7 separate regions of the Homo sapiens genome follow, and regions 2, 3, 4, 5, 6 and 7 are each linked to region 1. Evidence: promoter capture Hi-C in 16 types of primary human blood cells and fetal thymus (Javierre and others, 2016). All regions are on one chromosome and are shown on one strand. The core of a region is centred on a gene start or on the middle of the fragment in contact, and the rest is flanking DNA. Distances in the headings are between cores, read along the strand shown. Region 1 holds the start of PTPRK-AS1 (PTPRK antisense RNA 1). Region 2 overlaps PTPRK (protein tyrosine phosphatase receptor type K). Region 3 overlaps THEMIS (thymocyte selection associated). Region 4 overlaps THEMIS (thymocyte selection associated). Region 5 overlaps PTPRK (protein tyrosine phosphatase receptor type K). Region 6 overlaps PTPRK (protein tyrosine phosphatase receptor type K). Region 7 overlaps PTPRK (protein tyrosine phosphatase receptor type K).

Evidence for each region. The method cuts DNA at HindIII sites, captures the fragments that hold promoters and counts their contacts. A CHiCAGO score of 5 or more calls a contact.
Region 2: a contact is called between a fragment that was not itself captured here and the fragment with the promoter of PTPRK-AS1 in region 1, in 8 of 17 cell types (total CD8 T cells, non-activated CD4 T cells, total CD4 T cells and 5 more). The highest score is 9.0, in total CD8 T cells.
Region 3: a fragment that was not itself captured here is called in contact with the fragment with the promoter of PTPRK-AS1 in region 1 in 4 of 17 cell types (naive CD8 T cells, total CD8 T cells, non-activated CD4 T cells and 1 more); the score reaches 7.4 in naive CD8 T cells.
Region 4: a fragment that was not itself captured here is called in contact with the fragment with the promoter of PTPRK-AS1 in region 1 in 2 of 17 cell types (total CD8 T cells and naive CD8 T cells); the score reaches 7.4 in total CD8 T cells.
Region 5: a contact is called between a fragment that was not itself captured here and the fragment with the promoter of PTPRK-AS1 in region 1, in 1 of 17 cell types (M2 macrophages). The highest score is 5.6, in M2 macrophages.
Region 6: a fragment that was not itself captured here is called in contact with the fragment with the promoter of PTPRK-AS1 in region 1 in 4 of 17 cell types (fetal thymus, M2 macrophages, non-activated CD4 T cells and 1 more); the score reaches 6.7 in fetal thymus.
Region 7: a contact is called between a fragment that was not itself captured here and the fragment with the promoter of PTPRK-AS1 in region 1, in 1 of 17 cell types (fetal thymus). The highest score is 5.8, in fetal thymus.

Annotation. Positions count from the first base shown.
Region 1 is chr6:128,026,524-128,029,523 of GRCh38, reverse strand. It overlaps PTPRK-AS1 (PTPRK antisense RNA 1), which reads right to left and starts at 1,659. Exons shown (of 5, transcript NR_125849.1): 1 at 1,601-1,659. The region is part of intron 13 of PTPRK (protein tyrosine phosphatase receptor type K); the gene reads left to right. The HindIII fragment of the contact is 8,791 bases long and covers 1-3,000 here.
Region 2 is chr6:128,259,414-128,262,708 of GRCh38, reverse strand. All of the region lies in intron 3 of PTPRK (protein tyrosine phosphatase receptor type K), which reads left to right. Among named protein-coding and RNA genes, the nearest start is that of PTPRK-AS1, 230 kb to the right of the region's middle. The HindIII fragment of the contact is 155 bases long and covers 1,834-1,988 here.
Region 3 is chr6:127,837,978-127,841,205 of GRCh38, reverse strand. All of the region lies in intron 2 of THEMIS (thymocyte selection associated), which reads left to right. Among named protein-coding and RNA genes, the nearest start is that of THEMIS, 61 kb to the left of the region's middle. The HindIII fragment of the contact is 3,024 bases long and covers 1-2,820 here.
Region 4 is chr6:127,785,637-127,788,732 of GRCh38, reverse strand. The region is part of intron 4 of THEMIS (thymocyte selection associated); the gene reads left to right. Among named protein-coding and RNA genes, the nearest start is that of THEMIS, 110 kb to the left of the region's middle. The HindIII fragment of the contact is 2,130 bases long and covers 307-2,436 here.
Region 5 is chr6:128,203,246-128,206,556 of GRCh38, reverse strand. The region is part of intron 6 of PTPRK (protein tyrosine phosphatase receptor type K); the gene reads left to right. Among named protein-coding and RNA genes, the nearest start is that of PTPRK-AS1, 180 kb to the right of the region's middle. The HindIII fragment of the contact is 2,437 bases long and covers 574-3,010 here.
Region 6 is chr6:128,275,645-128,278,704 of GRCh38, reverse strand. The region is part of intron 3 of PTPRK (protein tyrosine phosphatase receptor type K); the gene reads left to right. Among named protein-coding and RNA genes, the nearest start is that of PTPRK, 240 kb to the left of the region's middle. The HindIII fragment of the contact is 639 bases long and covers 1,486-2,124 here.
Region 7 is chr6:128,229,729-128,232,837 of GRCh38, reverse strand. The region is part of intron 5 of PTPRK (protein tyrosine phosphatase receptor type K); the gene reads left to right. Among named protein-coding and RNA genes, the nearest start is that of PTPRK-AS1, 200 kb to the right of the region's middle. The HindIII fragment of the contact is 630 bases long and covers 1,224-1,853 here.

The DNA.
Region 1 (3,000 bases), core at 410-2,909:
GCCCGCCACCCTGTCCAGCTAATTTTTGTATTTTTAGTAGTGATCGGGTTTCACCATGTTAGCCAAGCTGGTCTTGAACTCAAATGATCCACCTGCCTCAGCCTCCCAGAGTGCTGGGATTACAGGTGTGAGCCACTGCATGCAGTCAGAGACTGGGTAGTTTATAAAGAGAAGAGGTTTAAATGGTTCATGGTTCTGCAGGCTGTAGAGGAAGCGTAGTGCTGGCATCTGCTTCTGGTGAGGGCCTCAGGGAGCTTACAATCATGGCAGAAGGTGAAGGGGAACCATGTATCACTTGGCAAGAGAGGGAGACAGGAGAGGGAAGGTCCACACTCTTTAAACAACCAGATCTCACAAGAACACTCATTACTGTGAGGATGGCACCAAGGCATTCGTGAGAGAGCCAACCCCCAAAACCAAAAACCTCCCACCAAGTCCCATCTCCAGCATTGGGGAATACATCTCAGCATGAGATTTGGAGGGCACAAACACCCAAACTGTATCAGTTGATCAAGAACTGACCATGGAAGATGGATAGTTGAAGTCACAAGCAGTCCAGCACAATTCTAACCTTACCATGAATCTGAATTCTTAGCTCACTAAAGATTTAGGAACAGAATTGGGGAGTAGAATTATGGTCATGTAAAAATAGAGTCCGTTTAACATCCTAACCTTAAATCAGAAACCATCAAAGCATCATATCAACAAAAAAATTGTTTTCACTTATGAAAAATATGAATATTAACACAATTTTGTTGCACACTTACTCTCTGCCATATGTCTTACACTAGGCATTGAGAAAATACTAAAAATACATAGGATATGTTCCATGCTCTCAAGAAGTTGTGAATTGTGAAAGAACCTGATAGTTGAAGTAATAATTTCATGCAGTGTGCCTAAACATGAAATAGAATTCCATACAAAGTGACATTTAAATAGGTAGAAAAACCAGAGACCATATCCACACTGGTAACAGCATGGGCAGAGGTTTGCAGTTAGACATGAAAGTTAATGCAGTGTTCAAGAATATACTGAGGAGTTAGTAAGAAATTAGGCTAAAATGTATGTTGATACAGATATGAGAAAGGGCTGTAAGACTCAAGATTCACTTTATCTTGAGGGCAGGGTGGCAGCTATCAACAGTGCTAAAGCACTTTCTCTTCCACTTTAAAAATTAAAACAGTGTGGTAACCTTAAAAGGTGTTCTGAAACAATATTCTAAGCAACTGTTATCACTTTTGCTTTTTCCTTTTTTTTATCAGGTGCTTACTTAAACATTTCTCATAATTGCAAAGATTGTGACTTGTAATTATTTGTAGTTACTATTTTACCATGAGCTTTACCCACATTTTTATGTGTTTTAATTTTAAGTGGCTAAATATTATTATAAATAGTGTGTGCAGTATAATTTATATTCGTCATTTTCATTTTCCCTGAAATCTTTGTAGGCTATTAAGAAGAACAATGATAGGATCATATTTAAGTTTTAGAAAAATGACACCTTAAAAGCTGCAGGTAGATTAGGATGAGTAGGACTTGGAGTCAGAAACTTCAATAAGGGAGTGGCTGCAATATAGACTAGGAAAGAGGTGATACCAACCTGTCAGTGTCCTCATCGGTAAAAGAAGATACAGCTGGGCACAGTGGCTTATGCCTGTAATCCCAGCACTCTGGGAGGCCAAGGTGGGCGGATCACTTGAGGCCAGGAGTACGCACCAACTTGGCCAACAGAGTGAAACCCCGTCTCTACTAAAAACAAAAATTAGTCAGGCACAGTGGCACACGCCTGTAGTCCCAGCTACTCGGGTGGCTGAGGTAGGAGAATTGCTTGAACCCAGGAGAAGGTTGCAGTAACCTGAGATGGCTCCACTGCACTCCAGACTCGGTGACAGAGCAAGACTCTGTCTCAAAGGAAAAAAAAAACATACAACAAGCCTCATAAGTGCTTGTGAAAGCTAATTGAAATAATATATTAAAAGAGTTTGGCATTTAGAAAGCTCTGAAACGATCATTCATTTAACAGAGGAAGCTATGAACATTTTTTTTTTAAAGGTCAGTTTGACTTTTAGGCACCTGATTTCCTGAAGGACTCTTTGAACTCTTTGAATGTGGGTACTGTTTTATGCATTTTCATGTGATAACTAAACAGCCTGATTTACATTCTTGCCCAATATACGTATTTCTTCAAATAATGAACTAATGAATTCCCGGGCAATAAATACCTTTTGGTTAAATGGACAAACAGTTCTGTTCAGTGGGAAACATGCTAGTAGAGTCTGCTTTTAAAGGAATTGCTGTATGCAGTATTCTAAGAAATAATGAGGAAGTATTTTTACTTCAAAATACTTTGATCATAATATGATGATAGGTATTTTCTTCTCTTGCCTGTGAAAGTGTGTGTTAGGTATGTACATTATGGGGCCAAACTAGTGATTGTTGCTAATTAGGATATATGTGGCGCATTCTATCAAGAATCCCAGTTTTCTGGGCACTGTGAGCTGTAAGTCAAGTCATAAAAAGGAGTGAATTGTCTTTTTCATATATAGCACTGAAATTGACTGGAGTTAATTATTTAATGCCTACCTCCCCTACTAGACTACAGGCTGTGTCACACACCTCCCTCAGCATCTAGCACAGCAAATGGATTTAGTAATATTTATTGAATAGATTAAGAAATACAGAGTGAATAAAATAGGACACTGGTTGGAGTGTTGGGTCAACCACAATTTTGGTGTGATATATTCTACATATCACAGTGAGAAGGAAAATGATATAAAATGAATAATATCCTCCTTAAAGTACTATACAAAAAGAATACTTCTTATATTTTTTCAAGATGATGTAATCTTGTCAAATATATAATATGTTGCATGCCAGTGCTTTCTTAATCCTTAATAGTAATACCAGTAATTGTATATTAAGTTCCTGCTATGTGTCAAATACTTCTAGGTACTTTAAATGTATATTCAGTAATCTTCAGAACAAGCCTAGAGAGCAGAA
Region 2 (3,295 bases), core at 662-3,161, 230 kb before region 1:
AACAGAAAGGTAGGAATTCCTGATGTCTAAGTGTCTAGTCCTAAACTGATTTTCCAAAGCAACTGAGAGTTTAGTTGGTTTTGGAGACAGTGTCTGTCATTCTCTCCCTCTCCCTCCTTCTTTGCCTTGCCCCCTCCATAGCTCTGTAGTTGGGTCTAGTTTAGGGCTTACCTATATGAAAGATTAAGTAAACACTCTGTTCTTTTCTTTGGGAAGTTAGTGTTGTTTTAGTATGTGGGGAGTCGAACACTCTTTAAAATAACTCATTTCTAGAAAACAAAAAGGCCAAAAATTTAGGATAAGATAACAGATATTGAAGATCAATGATTACATATTAAGTCTGTCAGTGTGATTCTCTTGAGATAAAAAATCCTTTTTTAAGAGAGTATAGTGCATAATATATTTTTGCTTCTATGAACTTATTTGGTTTCAATAATTTAATATTGAGGCTGTCTCACATTTTAAACCTAGGGAGAAAACAGGTTGGAAACTACATAAAATTGGTGTATCAACAGTTTTGAGTTGCAGTTTAACTTTCACTATGCTGCTTAATTTGTCATCCATAAAATTGGGATGAATCCAAACCTGGAAAGTAATATTTGACTGTAATACCAAGCCATACAGCATTGCCTGATCCACATAAAGCACACTTGATCAGTTTTGTCATTTGCACATGTGGAGAGTTTTCTCAGGCTGAGTAACTCCTGGTATTGGATTCTAGGCATAATCATGTCATTCTTGCTTGTTGGTGCCATGAAATAATTAGCCCACCATGTAAGGGCCCAACTTGATGCTGTGCTTAAGAGTAGAGCCTATATTCTTGATTCTTGTGGAATTTGTGTCTTATATGAAAGTTTGCTTGACCCACCAGTTGCTTCTTTTTGCTTTTAACTGTTAATATAGCTCCAAAAGCTATTGCCCAAATTTGTCAAAATTCATATTTAAAAGTTCTGCTGTTCAATGAGCTAGTCACTAGCCAGATGCAATTATTAAAATTAAAATTAAAAATGTATTTATTCATTTGCACTATCCACATTTTAAGTGCTTGATGCCTGCAGGTGGCTGGTTAGTGGCTACTATGTAGACAGATACAGAACATTTTTCTTGTGGCAGACAATTTTGCTGGACAGTTTTGCTCTAGACTGAAGCTCTGCACACAGTACTTCCCCTGTAATAACTATAGACATCTGGCTAGTTTTTACTGTGTTACAAACATTTTGCTAATTCAAGTTTGGAGACAATGGATTTCATAAAGAAATTATAATAAAATATACCTGTCAATGTACAATGTAGTGTTTCACCATATTATGTAATAAAATATCTTAAGTGCTAGTTTGGAAAATTTGCTGTTTTTTGTTATAGTGTTTTTAACATCTTTTGCCCTCTAGAACATTATTCTCAAATTTTAAATCCATATAACTATTGAAAAATCTGTATAAGTATTGATTTCTGCTTTTACATCTTTAATCATATGAACCAAAAGAAATACAACAATGAATCATCTAATATGTTTGAACAAAAATTGATGGGTTTTTCTTTTTTGAAAGTTTTATTTGGAGCACTGAGCTTGGAATATAAAATAAATAAAGACAACATGGAATTTAAATTTGGATGGGTAAAATAGAAAATGAAGTTTAGAGGCTTGATAGATTGACAGATCAAGAGGGGTAAAACAGAAACTATTGCTATATAAGCTCAGGATGAAATACTAAGTAGAGACCTCAGCCTATACATAAAAAGAGATGGAAAAACTAAGAAAATGCATGTTTGTTTTGCAATTTAAATTTTTATTTTCAGATCTTAGAGGACAACTATATCATTAAATGTTAAGCTTGCTAAAGCAGTATTTTTTAGGTGTCTTTAAAGTAACTTACTACAACTTCCTATATTTTTGCAGCATCTTCTAATGTACATGAAAGTTCAGTGAATGTACATGAAAGTTCAGGGACCACATGCTTAAATACTGGAGTTGAACGGAGAACTAAGCTTGTTTTGAAATAATTTTTGTTGTCCCTGCTTCCAAATTTGTTGTGGTAGTGGTTATATGAGTCTTTTATTTATTAGGAGATTAGGAAACTGCTTTCATAAATGGACATTATACAAGCATCTTCAAGAAACATGTTTCGCTTCTCCAGCTCCAATTAGAAAAGCGGTAATCTCCATCCCAGCCTTCTGGATGGCTGGCCTCTCTTCCTAACTTTCTTACCCGAATACCTCTTTATAGGAGGCTTACTACATGCCATTTGCTATGCTAGATATTGTGGGTAGCAATGATAAAGGCCATCTTCTCTATTTTATTTTTGGGCATCCTCAGGGTTAATGCCGTCATCTTTTCCTTCAACAACTGCAGTGGTCTCCTTAACATTGTCTCTGCTTCTGGATCTTGGTCTCCCACAAACCACTTCTCACAGTCATCAAAACAAACTTCTTCAGATCATAATTCAGATTATGTCACTCCTCTGCTATAAGCCTGTTCTGTTACATTTAGAATGAAATCCAATCTTTTAAAAAATAGAATAAAAAAAAATATATTTTAGGAAGCCATGTCATCAGAAGTGTAATCCAGAGAATAATATACTCTATAGGTCTAAAAAAAGATTTTCTAAATTATGCAATTATATTTTGATAAATACTTATAAATATTCAAATACAGACATCAGTAAAATGAAAAGTGAAACTCATTTCACCCATTTCATTCAATTTCTCCCCCAAGATGACTACTGTTAATTGGGTCTATATAGTTTAAGGCCTTTCCTATGAAATTACGTCCATGTTGTACGTTTGCTTTACATATGTTATGGACTGGAAAATGAAAGCAGTTGTGTGGAAGGGTTCTTATGTTACAGAAGGAAGTCACATTTTTTTAGTTTCCTTTTAACTTTCTTTAAATGAAAAGGAAAGAATGTTTTAAGTTATATCTTCAACTGCTAGAAAGGTAGTATACTTAGAATTTTTATGGCCCTTTCCTAGGGATTTATGATTTTCACATAAAAGAATGAAAATTGAACACACACTGAATTATACTTCTAAAACATACTTGAAATTTTTTGCCTCTCTCTATTCGTGTTACTTAACCAGTGCAAACTTACTGTAAGTAACGAAATCATTGAAGAAATACACAGAAAATGAAAGTAATCCATAATCTCACCTTCTGCTTTCTAGAGATGACTCCTAATATTTTGACAGGTGGCACATACATATGCATGTATGTATGTGCATATATGTACATTATATATGTGTGTGTGCATGTGCATATTAAACTTGATATTCAGTGGAATCATAATACATAATGTTT
Region 3 (3,228 bases), core at 59-2,558, 190 kb after region 1:
CCCCAACATGCCATATATGGCAGCCTCCCCCACCATCAATGTACAACACTAGAGTGGTACATTTGTTGCAAGTAGTGAACCTTCATTGACACATCATCTTCACTCAAAGTTCACAGTTTATATTTGGGTTCATTTTTGGTGTTGTACATTCTATGGGTTTTGATAAATGTAGAATGACACATATCCACTTTGATAGTGTCATACAAAATAGTTTCACCACCCTAAAAATCCTTTGTGCTCCGCCTACTCATTCCCCTCTCTCCTCTAATCCGTGGTAACCACTGATCCTTTTCCTGTCTCCATATTTTGCCTTTTTCAGAGCGTCATATAGTTGGAATCATATAGTATGTAGCCTTTAAAGATTGACTTCTTTCACCTACTAATACATATTTAAGGTTCTTACATGGCTTTTCATGATGTAATAAGTCATTTATTTTTAGTGCTGAGTAATATTTCATTGTCTGGATGTACCACAGTTTATCCATTCACCTACTGAAGGGCATAGTTATTACTTCCAAGCCTTGGCAATTACGAATAAGGCTGCTATAAACATTCATGTGCAGGATTTTGTGTGAAGATAAAGAACCCGAGTTTTTAAAGCTATAAGATGTATTTATTTTTCTGTTTTACAAGTAACACATGCATGTTGTAGAAAATTAGAAAATGGGAGAAAATTCAGGAAAGTAAATAAAACTCACTATAATATCATCACCAGACTCATCTAGCATTAATATTAGATACATTTGTTTCTGTTGTTTTCCAGTACATTGTACACATGCATACATATAGACACATGTTTTAGCATAATGGGAAAAAATCTTATTCTGAGGACTTGCCTGTGTCATTAAATATTCTTCAAGGCATAATTTTTATTTTCTAGGTAATAGTCCCTCACATGCATATTCCATAATGTATTCAATCCATCCTGAACATGGCCATTTATACAATTTGTACTGTGATGAACAGCCTTTTAAACTAACATTTTGTCTGCATTTCTGATTATTATAATAATCTTATATACATAGAAGTAAAAATGTTTTTAAAGATCTGATACATATTGTCAATCACATTTCATAAAGGCTCTGCTAATTTGCATTCCAACTAGGAACTTTTGAGGGGGCCAATCTAACTGCTTTTTTGAGGGTGTGACTTAACTGTTTGTCTTTCCCATCTCATTTTTTTGAGTTAATAGCATTATAACAATTTCCACATAACAACATTCACCTGATTAAAATATACAATTTAATGGCTTTTAGTGTCCCTGTCTCCATTTTTTTAGAAACATGAAATTTTAAATCTTCAACATCCTTGAAAATGGCAGGGCCTGACAGACCTGGCAGAGGGTCACACTGTCAACGATGCCCTGTAGTCAGGTAGGGGAACCAAGATGTGCAGTGCTTAGGTGAGTCATGCAAGGGAAGAGTTGTTCTTATAAGGGTGTTTGTTTTGACCTATTTAACTTCTTTCTAGAATTGCGAGTAAGTAAATATGGCCAGAAATTAATGAATTAAAAGACTTTTAGAAATGAGTTGTTAATTGGCTGGGCATAGTGGCTCATGCCTGTAATCCCAGCTCTTTGAAAGGCTTAGGTGGGAGGATGGCATGAACCCAGGAGTTCGAGGCCGCAGTGATCTGTGACTCCACCACTACACTCCAGCCTGGGTGAAAGCAAGACTCCATCTCAAACAAATTGAAAATTAAAAAAAGAGGTGGTAATCATTATTTGCAAATAGTAACATTACCCTGTAAAACAGAGTATCAAATGAGACAAAATATTGAAACTTGGTAAGATGACAAGATGAACAAATATGTAAAACAACTGTATGTACATAAAGGAATATATTCTTACATATAAGAATACATATAGTTATAATTTTCCATTTATAAACACTTAGAATATATAGGGGTAACATATTTTATAACTAACTCATTTATTTACTTAAAAAGTATTATACAAGTTTACTTATTTATTAAAAAATAGACGTGCTTGAATCAGAAAACTGAATATTATAAATATATCAATTACATATGAATTAATTTATGTTCAACATAATGCAGAATAAAATTTCCATATTATAATCATAATTATTACTATGTTGCCTCTTGAGAGAGTAATTGTAAAAATCACTTGGGAGAATAAACAAGTGAACATATTCAAGCAAATATTTTAAAAATAGGATAATGAGGGAGTACTTGTCCTGCCAACATTAATGTCTGATACAAAGTTATAATAAATGGTACTATATGTTGCTTACAGAAAATCAAAAACTGCATCAATAAATTACTTTTACAATAGTGGTACTAGTTGTTATAGAAGCGTCACAGCAATGTTTTTAATTTGACTCTAGTGCCATGCACTTAAGCATTTGTTTATAGCTCAGAAACAGACTTTAATGCAGAGTATTATTTGCTGTTTGATAAAGTTTTTACTGCACATCTGGGTTTAAAGGAAGAATTATTTAGTAAATTGTTCTAGTATAGTTAATAATGTAGCAAACAGTAGATCAAATTGGATCATCAACATTATACCATAGCAAAAGAAATTTGAAATAGATGAAAACATCACATTTTAAGGAAAACTATCTTATGTCTATATTTGAAACAACTTTCAAGTTGCAAATATAATAGAAAACCATAAGGAAACAATATATTTGAATACATAAAATGAAACTTTCTGTCATAAAGTAAAAAAATGAGGAAGAAATGTTTAATAGCAAAGGAAGATAACTCAATTTTTAAAAGACTAAATGTCACTGAAATGGAAAACAGAAAAATCAATAAATATTCTAGTAGAACACTAATAGGAAAATGGACAAAGCTTAGAAGAAATTCAAATGGTTTATAATTGTGTAGAAATTAGTTTGTACTAACACAATAACAACTTTTCCACCTATATAGGTATCTAAGCTTTTGCATTTATGAAGTTGGGAAAAATATTGTCAAAGGGTCACTCTTAAACCTAACTGAGGAGTGTATCCTTCCTGAAAATAAATTTTGTAATAGATTGAGTAGCTTCTTTGAAAATACATGTAATATATTTTGAATTCCATCTACATCTTATGCATGTACAGAGATAATTATTGATGACACAGGTACATTTAGTCTTGGTTCTGCCATCCTGGAACCAGTACTGTGCTGAGAAAAGAGCCTTTATAATGTTTAAAGCTTTAACTCAGTGCTTCCACTTGTCGAATCAACTCCAAAGAAATAATCATTTTAGAATTATTT
Region 4 (3,096 bases), core at 122-2,621, 240 kb after region 1:
TATACACTGTAATAATGTATTGCCTCTTTAATGATGAAAGAAATAATCTCTGCTGATGTGATCATTTTTGTTGTGCCTTTTCAAGAAAATATATGGGGCTAAAATGTTAAAATAACTTATTTTCAAGTAGAGTACTATAATCTGAAAATACAATTGAGTACCTTCTTACTGTCCGTAAATGAATACTCTCAAAAGTTCTGATAGTTTTAATTAAGGTAATAATTATGAATGTCATTCATTTGTTTAATGAAAATGTCAATATTGGCAAATAAAGCATTTTAATTTTTTCCTGTGGGATAAGAAGCTTCCTTTGTATTCATCCCTCAACCTTTCATTATTCAATACCAAAAGCTGTAGAGTAAATCAGGGAAAGTCACTAGGTTGGTGTCAATCCCTGGATTTGATTATTGAGAGGCAATTCTCCATGAAATATTTTCAGATTACCACACAGTCCAATCTTTTTGAGGAAAGACCACTGGCAAACTTGGTTAAAGTAGGGTTGAATAGCAAATGTATCTTGGAAGATAGAGATAGTAGGTTGCTTCAGAGAGGTTTAGAGACGTCTCCCCTGTAAACATTTGCTAACATCGCAAAATAAAAGACTCTCCCTCACCTGAGGAAAGGATGGGTCAATGTGCCAGCCAAACTCCAAGTGTCATAGTTTGTGAGTCCATGGTGGTATACTCAACTCTTGTCTGTGCAGGATAACATTAGTCTCTCATAGCCTTCTCAGTGCTAAGATGCTCTGTGAATATTCAACTATCTGTTTTCTAATCTAGACACTTTGTGTTTATTACCAGAAGAGCATCTATTTATCTATCTATCTATCTATCTATCTATCTATCTATCTATATCTATCTATCTATCTATCTATCTATCTATATCTGTCTATCTCTATCTATCTATCTATCTATCTATCTATCTATCTACCTATCACTGTGGCAGGCTGACTTTTTAGCTTATAAATATAGTTAGTAGACTTAATTTTAGATAATACAGATGTCATTCCTTTATTAACCTCATGCCATGCTGATGTTTGTAATGATGAGAAACGAGAATCATTTTATGGTATCGTTTATCAAGATATTGTATATATCATGTGTTCTCTATGATACATTCAAAAAACAGATCCCAGTAATAATATGTTTACAGTATGGAGTTCTTTACACACACATACTTTCAGGACAGTTGAGATAGAGAGATAAAAGCATTTCCCTGGTGCCAGTGGTAGGTTTGAATTTCTTTGAAACATATCAAGATAAGGTGATGCCATGCAAAGAACATGGTGACATGGGTGCAGCAGAGTGTCAGCTAGGAGCAGACTAGATTCATCTTGGCGGACCTAGTGGACTAGTGATATCTGAGGCCTTTTATGTGCATGAGTAGATCTATGCAAGTTTTCCAGCTAAAGGAAGAAGGTGATGTGTGCATGTGTTTGTGTGTGTGTGTGTGTGTGCGTGCACACATGTGCATGCTAGAGTGCAGGAAAGAGACAAAGATAAACAGGAAAGTTGGGAAAATTTAGAATATATTAAAAAAAACCCTATATCTTGCTTCCTGTTTGCCACAATTAGCATCACAGCCTCTGGAAGATGCAATGGTTAATAATTGCTGCTGATTCTTTGATATGGCTTTTCCTGGGGACAGTAGGGAGTCAGCTTGAGTAAAGACAAATCCTAGAAAGGGTGCTTTTTCAGGGAGATTCCTAACAGCTAACATAGTGGCAATGCTCTTGGAATCGAGTTTTTTTAGGAGCTCCAAACCCAGTGTCCCCCTCTTTGGTGGTTGCAAAGTTGCTTTTTCTCACAGCTACTGTGATTGCAAGGCTGCTGGTTTTCAAGTCTGTCATGCAGCTGAGAAGAATTGCTATAGGACAATTCAAAACGTCACAAAGCTCACATTCTTATCAAGATTTAGTCACTTTTCTTAAAAAAAAGATTTCTTTTTCGTTAATTTCTAGAGTTCTGCAAAAGTTGATTCTGACAAATTTTGCTAGTGGTCATTGCCTTTATGCTGAAATAGATTTTCAGAAGTCCTTAGCCTGCCATTTCTAACTGTTGGTCTTGGGCAAATTATTTAATCTCCCTTTTTCTCAATTTTCTAGTTCATAAAACAAGCATAGTAACATGCCCTAGAGAATTGTTGTGAGGCTTAAGAAAGCTCATTCAAGAAAACCACTTAGAATAGTACTTGGTACCTAATGAATACTCAACCAACACTGGCTGTCAGTATCAGTATATTCATTTTAAATACTTAAGTTTAGATATAAACAAACCTACCTTTTATTTTTCCCAAATTTTGGTTCTATGCTCACTTTTTATTTTTCTGAATTGGTTTATCTGGCTACAAAGTTTTACAGATTCTATTTCACAACGTTTCAGACCATAGCAGTTGATAATGTTTTACATTCCATTACACAGACTATTCCCTGAAGCTTTTTGGAACAATAACAGATGGCCAAGCTGTTGAAGATATTATGATTCTACTTACTGTTCAAATATGTAGGCTAGAACAGGGTAATTTTGCTTTCTGTTACCTGAGAAAAATAAGAATGCCACATTTATTTATGTACTTTTATCCATGTGGTTTATAAAATTTCACTTTTTGAGAGGATTGTCCCAGGGTGCAAATAGTGCAAAATATCTTATTGAATACCTAGAGCTATCAAAGTCATTAATGTTTTATAAAATATTCAAACTTTTAATAATAAATAAAGCTGCTTCCTAAAAAGATCTCCTACTAAGAGGGAGTACATATGAGAAGATGAGGTACTTTCAGTGCCTTAAATGTCAGCAAACTTGAGCCTGTCAGAAAAAGAAAATGGGAATTTCATAAATTGGTATAATATGTAATTACAATGGCTAATTCAAAATATTTAACAATAATTAATTATGAAAAATAAGTAGTCTTTTGCCCTCTTTTCTAAATGCTATTAATATTATTTATGATAATATTAAGCATAGTACTCATATAATGAGTCACTTCATTAAAGATATTCTTAGGTTTTTTTGGTCTATATTTGTAGTATTCTTAAGGCTCTGATTTTTGAATAAGGAGGAAAAGATGGCTAACCTGGTTCACCAGTTGTTCTTTAAC
Region 5 (3,311 bases), core at 543-3,042, 180 kb before region 1:
AGTATCTAGTTTATCTACAGCGAGTTTTAACAATTAATACTGATAATCCTTTTTTTATACTGAGAATAAAGTGTTTTGTTGTTACCAGTGCCTTGACTGAATGGCTTAGGAACAGTGTAAGACACTCTGATTTTTTTTTTTTTTTTTTTTAATGAACACCCTTTATTATTAGCAGCATGTATCTTTCTGCTGGGTGATGGAAGTGTGCCTTCTTGCTGAATCTGTGTGTTCTCTTTGATTCTTATAATATGTTTCTGATATACTAAAATAAAAGAGTTTGTTTTAAATATCACCAGACTTTTTTCTCTTTACCTTCTCTTTAAGTCACTTTAAATAATAATATTTTATTATTGACATAAAAACCCTATATATTCATTGATTTGATTAACATATTTGAGGATCACCATGTGTTAATTATTGGATTTATTGCTAATAAAATGACTAAGATGCATACTCTTTAGGGGGTTATAGTGCCATATGTAACTATGGTAATATCTAGTTTTCAAATTATAACATAATTTCTTTTTTCTCCACCAGCCTCTTTCCATGAGGGTCCAAGAAGCAAATAAAGCTTCTGTTTATGTTTTTGTATTTCTAACTAAGAAAGTCTATTCCAGATTCAGTTACTAACAACTATATGGAAAATAAGAAGTTATCTGGAAATGTGACTTATCTTTTGAATGAAATATGTCAATAAGCAGGGCATGTCCCTAGGGACATTTTCTCCCACTCTTATATTTTTTAACTTGAATTTTTTTTTTTTTTTTTTTTTTTTTTTTGGTCTGTGATGCAGATTCTCACTGTGTTGTCCAGGCTAGAGTTCAGTGGCACAATCTTGGCTCACTAGAACCTCTGCCTCCCAGGTTCGAGCAACTCTCCTGCCTCCACCTCTCAAGTAACTGGGATTACAGGTGCCCCCCACCACTCCCAATTTTTGTGTATTTTTAATAGAGATGGGGTTTCGCCATATTGGCCATGTTTGGTCTCAAACTCCTGACCTGGACCTCAAACACCATCCTAAGATGGTGATCCACCCATCTTAGCCTCCCAAAATGCTGGGATTATAGGCGTGAGCCACCACGCCTGGCCTTTTCTTGAAATTTCTTCACTTTCTTTCCTTTTGTTTTTCTTCAACTTTTAAGTTCAGGGGTACATGTGCAGGATGTGCAGGTTTGTTACATACATAAATGTGTCCCATGGTGGTTTGCTGCACAGATTGTCCCATCACCTAGGTATTAAGCTCAGAATCCATTAGCCGCTCTTCCTGATGCTCTCCCTCCCCCGCATACTTCCATCCAACAGGCCCCAGTGTGTGTTGTTCCCCTCCATGTATCCATGTGTTCTCATTATTCAGCTATCACTTATAAGTGCGGAATGTGGTGTTTGGTTTTCTGTTCTTGCATTAGTTTGCTGAGGATAATAGCTTCCAAGTCTCTCCATGTCCCTGCAAAGGACATGGTCCAATTCCTTTGTATGGTTGCATGGTATTTCATGGTATACATGTACCACATTTTCTTTATCCAGTGGGTCATTTATGGGCATCTAGGTTGATTGCATGTCTTTGCTATTGCGAATAGTGCTGCAATGAACACACACATGCATGTATCTTTATAAAAGAATGATTCCATTCTTTTGGGTATATACCCAGTAGAGGGATTTCTGGGTCAAATGGTATTTCTGCCTCTAGGTCTCTGAGGAATTGCCACACTGTCTTCCGCAAGGGTTGAGCTAATTTACATTCCAACAGTTTATAAGCATTCCTTTTTCTCCACACCCTTGCCAGCATCTGTTGTTTTTGACTCTTCGATAATCACCATTCTGACTGATATGAGATGGTATCTCTTTGTGGTTTTGATTTGCATTACTCTAATGATCAGTGATGTTGATCTTTTTTTTTTTTCATGTTTGTTGGCTGCCTATATGTCTTCTTTTGAGAAATGTCTGTTCATGTCCTTTGCCTACTTTTTAATGGAGTTGTTTTCTTCTTGTAAATTCGCTTAAGTTCCTTATAAACTCTGGATATTAGACTTTTGTCAGATGGATAGATTGCAAAAATTTTCTCCCATTTTGTAGGTTGTTTGTTCACTCTGATGTTAATTTCTTTTGCTGTGCAGAAGTTCTTTCGTTAGATCCCATTTGTCAATTTTTGCTTTTGTTGAGATTTCTTTTGGTGTCTTCATCATGAAATCTTTATCCATGCCTATGTCCTGAATGGTATTGCCTAGATTTCCTTCTAGGCTTTTTATAGTTTTGAGTTTTACATTTAAGTCTTTAATCATCTTGGGTTAATTTTTGTATATGTTTTAAGGAAGGGGTCCAGTTTCAATTTTCTGCATTTGGCTAGCCAGTTCTCCCAGCACCATTTATTAAATAGGGAATCCTCTCCCCATTGCTTGTTTTTTCAGGTTTGTCAAAGATCAGATGGTTGTAGGTGGATAGTCTTATTTTTGAATTCTCTATTCTGTTCCACTGGTCTATGTGTTTGTTCTTGTATCAATACTATGCTGTTTTGGTTACTGTAGCCTTATACTGTAGCTAGAAGTTGGGTAGTATGATGCCTCCAGCTTTGTTCATTTTGCTTTGGATTGTCTTGGCTATTTAGGATCTTTTTTGGTTCCATATGAATTTTAAAATAGTTTTTTTCTAATTTTATGAGGAACATCAATAGTAGTCTAATGGGAATGCTATTGAATCTATAAATTACTTTAGGCAGTATGGCCATTTTCATGACATTGATTCTTCCTGTCCATGAGCATGGAATGTTTCCCATTTGTTTGTGTCCTCTCTGATTTCTTGGAGGAGTGGTTTGTAGTTTTCCTTGAAGAGGTCTTCCACTTCCCTTGTTAGCTGTATTTCTAGGCATTTTATTCTCTTTGTAGCAATTGTGAATGGGAGTTTACTCAGAATTTGGCTCTGTGCTTGCCTCTTGTTGGGGTATAGGACTGCTAGCAATTTTTTCACATTGATTATCCTGAGACTTTGCTGAAGTTGCTTATCAGCTTAAGAAGCTTTTAGGCTGAGGTGATGGGGTTTTCTAGGTATAGGATCATGTCATCTGCAAATAAAGATAATTCAACTTCCTCTCTTCCTATTCAAATACTCTTTATTTCTTTGTCTTGCCTGATTGCCCTGGCCAGAACTTTCAATACTATGTTGAATAGGAGTGGTGAGAGATGACGTCCTTGTCTTGTACTGGTTTTCAAGGGGAATGCTTCCAGCTTTTGCCCAATCAGCATGATATTGCCGATTTTGCCTGTGGGTTTGTCATATATGGCTGTTACTGTTTTGAAGTCTTTTCCATTGGTTTATTG
Region 6 (3,060 bases), core at 556-3,055, 250 kb before region 1:
GTGTTTGATAATAATATTAAATAATAAGTAGACTAAATCTAAAGACCAAGCCCAGTGGCCTTGTGCAGGATGGCATCTTTCTGGTTGATAACAATGCATTAGTCAATTTTTTTCCAGTATAGAGGTTAGACTAGTCATAAAGTGACATTACTTTGTTATTATCCAGCTCTCATTTCTGCACCTTGCCCATAAGTGGAGGGTGAGAGATTCTTTCAAATGCTTTATTGAAATGTAGACATATTAAGACCTGGCCAGGTGCAGTGGCTCACGCCTGTAATCCCAGCACTTTGGGAGGCCAAGGTGGGCAGATCACAAAGTCGGGATTTCAAGACCAGTCTGGCAAACAGAGTGAAACACTGTCTCTACTAAAAATACAAAAAATTACCTGGGCGTGGTGGTGTGCACCTGTAATCCCAGCTACTTGGGAGGCTGAGGCAGGAGAATCGCATGAACCCAGGAAGCGGAGGTTGCAAGAAGCTAAGATCACGCCATTGCACTCCAGCCCAGGCTACAGTGCGAGACTCCGTCTCAAATAAATAAATAAATAAATAAATAAATAAATAAATAAATAAATAAATAAAAAACACAAAAACACCTGCATTGTTTCCTTTACCTATTTTTATGGTACTACTAGCTTTTTTGGGAAAAGAGCCAGAAAGTATTCATTTAAAATGTCAATAGAATTTCACCAATAATTTGGAAACACTGATTTGTAGGTTTTTTCTTTTAAAACAAACTCAATTTATTCCATTTAAAAAATATTTGGACTGTATTTGTTCTCATGTTCTCATATCATGCCCATTTTTGTCAGTATTAGCAAATAGCAAATTAGATTATTCAGCCCCTCATTCAACAAACAGTTTTAAGTACCTCAGATGGGCCAGGTACTTCTGCAAATTTTCTCCATACCTTAGGATATTCTTTGTTTGGACTAGAAGACTAGAATTAATTCAAGACAGCTATTCAAACCTAAGCCATTTGCTGAGGTCGATTCATAAATCATGTTAAAATGTTAGTCTAACCTCACATAAATTAATATGCGTCCTTTCCCCAACCTTCACTTCTTTGGCCAGGAGATGAAAGCTCAACATGGACTTCCCACCCCAGGTATTGATCTCCTTTCAGAATCTGCCTCTGTATTACTGTTTCGAGAGTCAGGGTCAGCAGGAATATTGTTTTGGGAGAACAGGTCACATATTGCATTAGAGTAACATATGATTATTTTCTGACCTCTCTTCTCTTTAACTTAATTCTCAGTGTTTTGACAGAGCTCTTGCATGCCTGTTCCCTAATAAAGGACAAAAGACAATCATTTTCTTATGACAGTTTCGTATTTTATCTCAATCTAACAGCAGCATGAATTGATAACTACTTGTACAAGTAATGTTATTTTATTTGGTTCAATGTACTATGACTGACTTTTATTTAAAAGACCCGTTCTGCAAATTACCTTGGTTTATACTTAATAGGTAGTTTTTATAAGCTTAGCTCCAAGTTAAACGTTCAATGTTTGTTTTATTGAATTACTTTCTATATGAACTTGAGTAGACAGCTGTTTTCATGTTAGTGAGACTTTTTTTTTTTTCTTTCAGACTGACACTGTTGTGCCAAGCTATAAGGAGTAGATTCTTCAGGCAGAGGTCACTCATTGTCTTTCAGTTAGAGATTTAGAAAAACTTTTCTAAGCTAGTGCTCCTGTGGTATTGCATGCTACAAAGTGGGGAGGCCCTTTGGGACATGGTCAAGTCTTTTTAAAGATCAAATCCTCAATTTTTGGAAGAGTATATATATCTCATATACACAGTTTCTTAAAATTTAGGGTTTGTTGAGACACATGGAAAAAAATTTAAATGCCACTGTTGAGTAATTTTATGCTGTATACTTTTTCAGGGAATAGTCTTGAACTCATCGGTGCCCACAACTTAGAGAAATAATATTTGGGGAACATTATTTGAAAGATACGCAACTCCTTCTATGTTTCTTCATTTTCTAAAAATCTATCCCCAAATCAAGCCAGATCTACAGAGACTGGCACAAGGAAGAATCAGTTTACCTCCCAATGGAATTGTTTTACTGAATCACATTACACTGGGAGCTGCTTGCTGCATTTATTGCCAGAAAGCTTAAAGCCAGTTTATGGCTCTCTAATAAGAAATATATAAATGTTTATGGTAAACATGTTTGAGCTTTATTTCTGGCTCTAATTGATGGCTTTATTCCCATTTTTCTTTCTTCTTTCTGTCCAGTTTTACACTTCTGGAATTTTCTTGTGGTTAATATATCCTTTCAGCTTCCTTTAGTCTTTTCTAGAATGGAGGCAGAATCTAAATAAACAAATACAAAACATCTGCAGTAGAAAAGGATAATGAGAAAAGAATGATTTTTTCTTTGAACTTCTGTTCTGTGGTCAAAGACAATATTTCTGCTTTCTTAAATAAAATAGCCTGGTAAATGCTATTAGTAGACAAATAAAGAAATTTGTATTTAAATTACTTACAGATACCATAAAACTTTATATGTGTTGCCTCAAGTAGAATCTTATGCTCTTGTTGTTGAATAATTTAGTATATTGGCATTTATAGTTAAGACATCCTATTTTAACATGATTTTAATAGTGAATCACTTAATATTTAATTAAATAGTTAATGTTACCTTATGTGCATACTTAAAATTTTTTTTAAAGTTTACATATATCATCATACTGATAGGAAAAGTCTATAAAGTAGGCAAGGTTTATATATTACCCCCATTTAAAAGGCATGGTTGGGTTATGACTTGCCAAAAAACAAAAGGCAAAAAATATATCATGTGGCAAAGAAAAATAAGACATTAAATTTTGAAAGAACCTTATGAGTCAGACATAATTCATCAAGTACAGTTTGCCTTTTAGTTTTATGAAATATTAATACTGAAAGGGACCTTAGAAAGTATTTTGTCCAGCCTTCTGATTTTATGAGTGAAAACAACCAACTAATTTTAGAACATTCAAACAAGTATTAGAACCTCTACTCAATGGAACCATATTTATCCCCTGTATAACTTCAAATAGAGTTGAGTAGT
Region 7 (3,109 bases), core at 289-2,788, 200 kb before region 1:
TTCTAGGTAAAAGACTTTAAGAATGGCTGACACACTTCTGAAATATTAAAATAACAAACAGTAGCATATAAGTACCAAAACAGTGAGTAAACTTGAACAATGATGTCAGAATTGCTAAAGGCACATGGCACAAATATATCTTGAGATTTGTAGAAGATTAGGTAAGTGACTTATTTACTACCTTGTAATGTAAGGAATATACAAATGGATTTAATTTCCTCCTTATAGATCCTAAAGTATAATAATGACATGATTTGAAGCTTATGGTGAGAGCTATAAGCTGATTATAAGGGAGAACTTTGTAATTGTAGGGCTGTTGAAAACTACAATGAGCTGCTCCAGGAGGTAGTAAAATTACAATTAGTCCAAGTATCCAAGCATAATCTGGGTAAGCATATGCTAGAGATGTAGAAGACATTTGAGCCTGAGGTTAACTACTTTTTAAGATACTTTTTGCCCTGACATGTGATTCTATAACTGTGTATGGGAAGTCTGTATAGAGTCTAAGGACTGTACTGTTTCAGAGATAAGCGTGAGCAACGCGGACTGGAGTATTTGGTGAAATCATTAGAGAAGACTTGATTGAAACCTTGAAGTGTACATAGTACTTGAATAAGCAAAAGTGGGCATGGTTACTACTGCAGATTCAGAAGGCAGAAAGCACGTCGTGTGTATGTGTGGGGACGTGGGATAGGAACCGAAGGAGAAGGATCTTACTGAAGTGGAAGGTTCACCATGAGGAGTGGAGGTAAATAGAATTTATGGAAAAGTTGGTACTAGACCACGGTGGAGACTGCTGGAAGAGGAAGAGGCTTCTGTTCTCAGTACAGTCATCAGGGAATGAGGGCCTGATTCCGGACAGCGCCATTGGCATTGGAAGATCCATGAGTAGCAAAGGAGAGGACAAATTAAGAAACAAAACGATTTTGGGCCTGGTTTGCACCATTTTATAGAATTTGAGAAGATGTGAGAGTGAAGTAATATAGACAGCTTTGTACATTTTCTCAGAGTTTATTTTTAAAAGACAGTCAATGAGTTTGTTTTTTCAATTTCTAGTTTTGGAGCGCATTTGTCTATTAGAACCATTGTTTTACTTTTTACCTCTTTCTACCTTCATAATTTCATGTAAGTGTTCCTCAGTAGGAGTGAAAAATGAGGAGACATTTCAATTCCTTTTGACTCTTTCTAGCTTTAATAAAAGTTTACCAAGACAATTTGAAGCTTGTCGCCAACTTAAACCTCTGAGTGGCCCAGGTGTCACTGAGGAGAATTAATCTATGGGAAAACTGTTGGTGCCTTCAACCTTGGCTGCTTCTGTAACTTCTGGCTCACAAGACAGGAGTGTGAGGAGTGCAAACCATGTCCCTTGTGCTTTCCTAGTTTCTTGTCACCTGCTCTAAACTTTAGCTGATAGATGAATAGTAGCTTGCTATTTAATTCTAATTTTCTCTGCTTTTGTCTAAGCAGTAGTGATTTTGCCATGTATACACTGGTTTACAGTTAATTCTGATCCACTTAAGAGACCGTGTTCTCTTTCGTAGCTAAGAGCCAACACTCGGCAGTCCTGCTTTTCATTGGGCCATTGGTATATTCTAATTCACAGCATTATCTTCTTTCTGCATAGCTTTATATAAAGAATTCTGCTTATAGGTCTTGAGATAAAGTCACCGATCTCATATCATGGATTATAAGGTTTTTCTTCTGCTTTCTGGCATTTTGGATATGTAATGATGAGCATCAGAAAGTTTAATCATATTTACTTTTTAGAATTGTTAAATACTCCTGAAGTCATTTTGGTTGATTTTATGTGGCTTCCTACCGTAAAGAGATCAATGCCTTGCAGATATAAAGCTTTCTTTTCCTTCTTTAATAATTTATAAACTCTGAATTTAATGTTTACAGATTACATAACTGATCATAAATGAATAATGCGTATAATATTCTTTACCTTCCTTATCTATTCTTGGAACAGGACTATACAAGCCTGGCAGTCATGGAAGTTCAAGGATTGCTTTTTATCGATATCTAGAAATAATTTACTTCTCTTTCTGTGCAAGAACAATATGCTCTCCTGTTTGCAGAGCTGCCCCTTCAGTGTGTTTCTAGGTGTGTCACGTCAAGCACTTTGTAACTTTCCCATTGAGCTCCTGGGATCAGTATTACAACATGGATCACTGGCAGGCCTGGTTTCTTCTTTATGAAAAGTAGTCTGCTAGAAAGATCTAAAATTTACAAAATTATTTTATTGTAAAATAAAACGTAGGTATAGAATACCACACAAAAATAAAAACTATTGTGACTCAATATCGGGTAAACATCACACAGGACAAGAAAGAGAGCTTGCCAGCCATCCCAGAGGTGCCGTCCATGTGCTCTGTGCCAGGCATAACAGAGCTGTCTCCCTGCCTCTACAAATAACCACTCTCATGAATTTTAACCCTTGTAGTTTTTTTGCAGTTATATATGCATCCCTAGACACCATAGTCTTACCAGTTTTTAAAATTAGACATCTTTTTAAGTCACTTTTAATCTGTAGGTTTGTCCTTTATTCCTTTCCTCGCAATTTATCTGTTGAGCCTAGGATGTTTGACTTCTAGCTTCCCCTGTCCACATTTTGCTGATTGCATACTAATGCCCTCTTCAGTTCCACATGTCCCTCTTTCCTCTCCATTTCCTGCAACTTGGCAGCCAGATCCAGGGTCAAGTTTGATCCTTTGGCAACACCATAGGTGGTGTTTGGTATAATAACAGGAGGAACAAAATGTGTCATCTTTCTTTTTGTGATCTTGTCAGTCTCTGATGATTAATGCCTATATTTATTCCTGGGGGTAGAAAACTGTGATATTCTATCATTTTTTTGTGTGTCTTATTTCTTTTGTATTTGTTTAGTTGATGAAAAGATACATACTCCCCCTAATCTACTATTTGGTTACCCAATAACACAATTCATTAAGGAAAGGGAAAATACATGCTCCAATCTTTGCTATATTTACTAGTTTAAAATGAGTTGGTTCCCTATCATCCTGCAAAGATGACTTACTCTTTTTTTCTTTTAATATCATTATACACTCATGGATTTAAATATATTTAATGGAGTTTAATTTGTTGC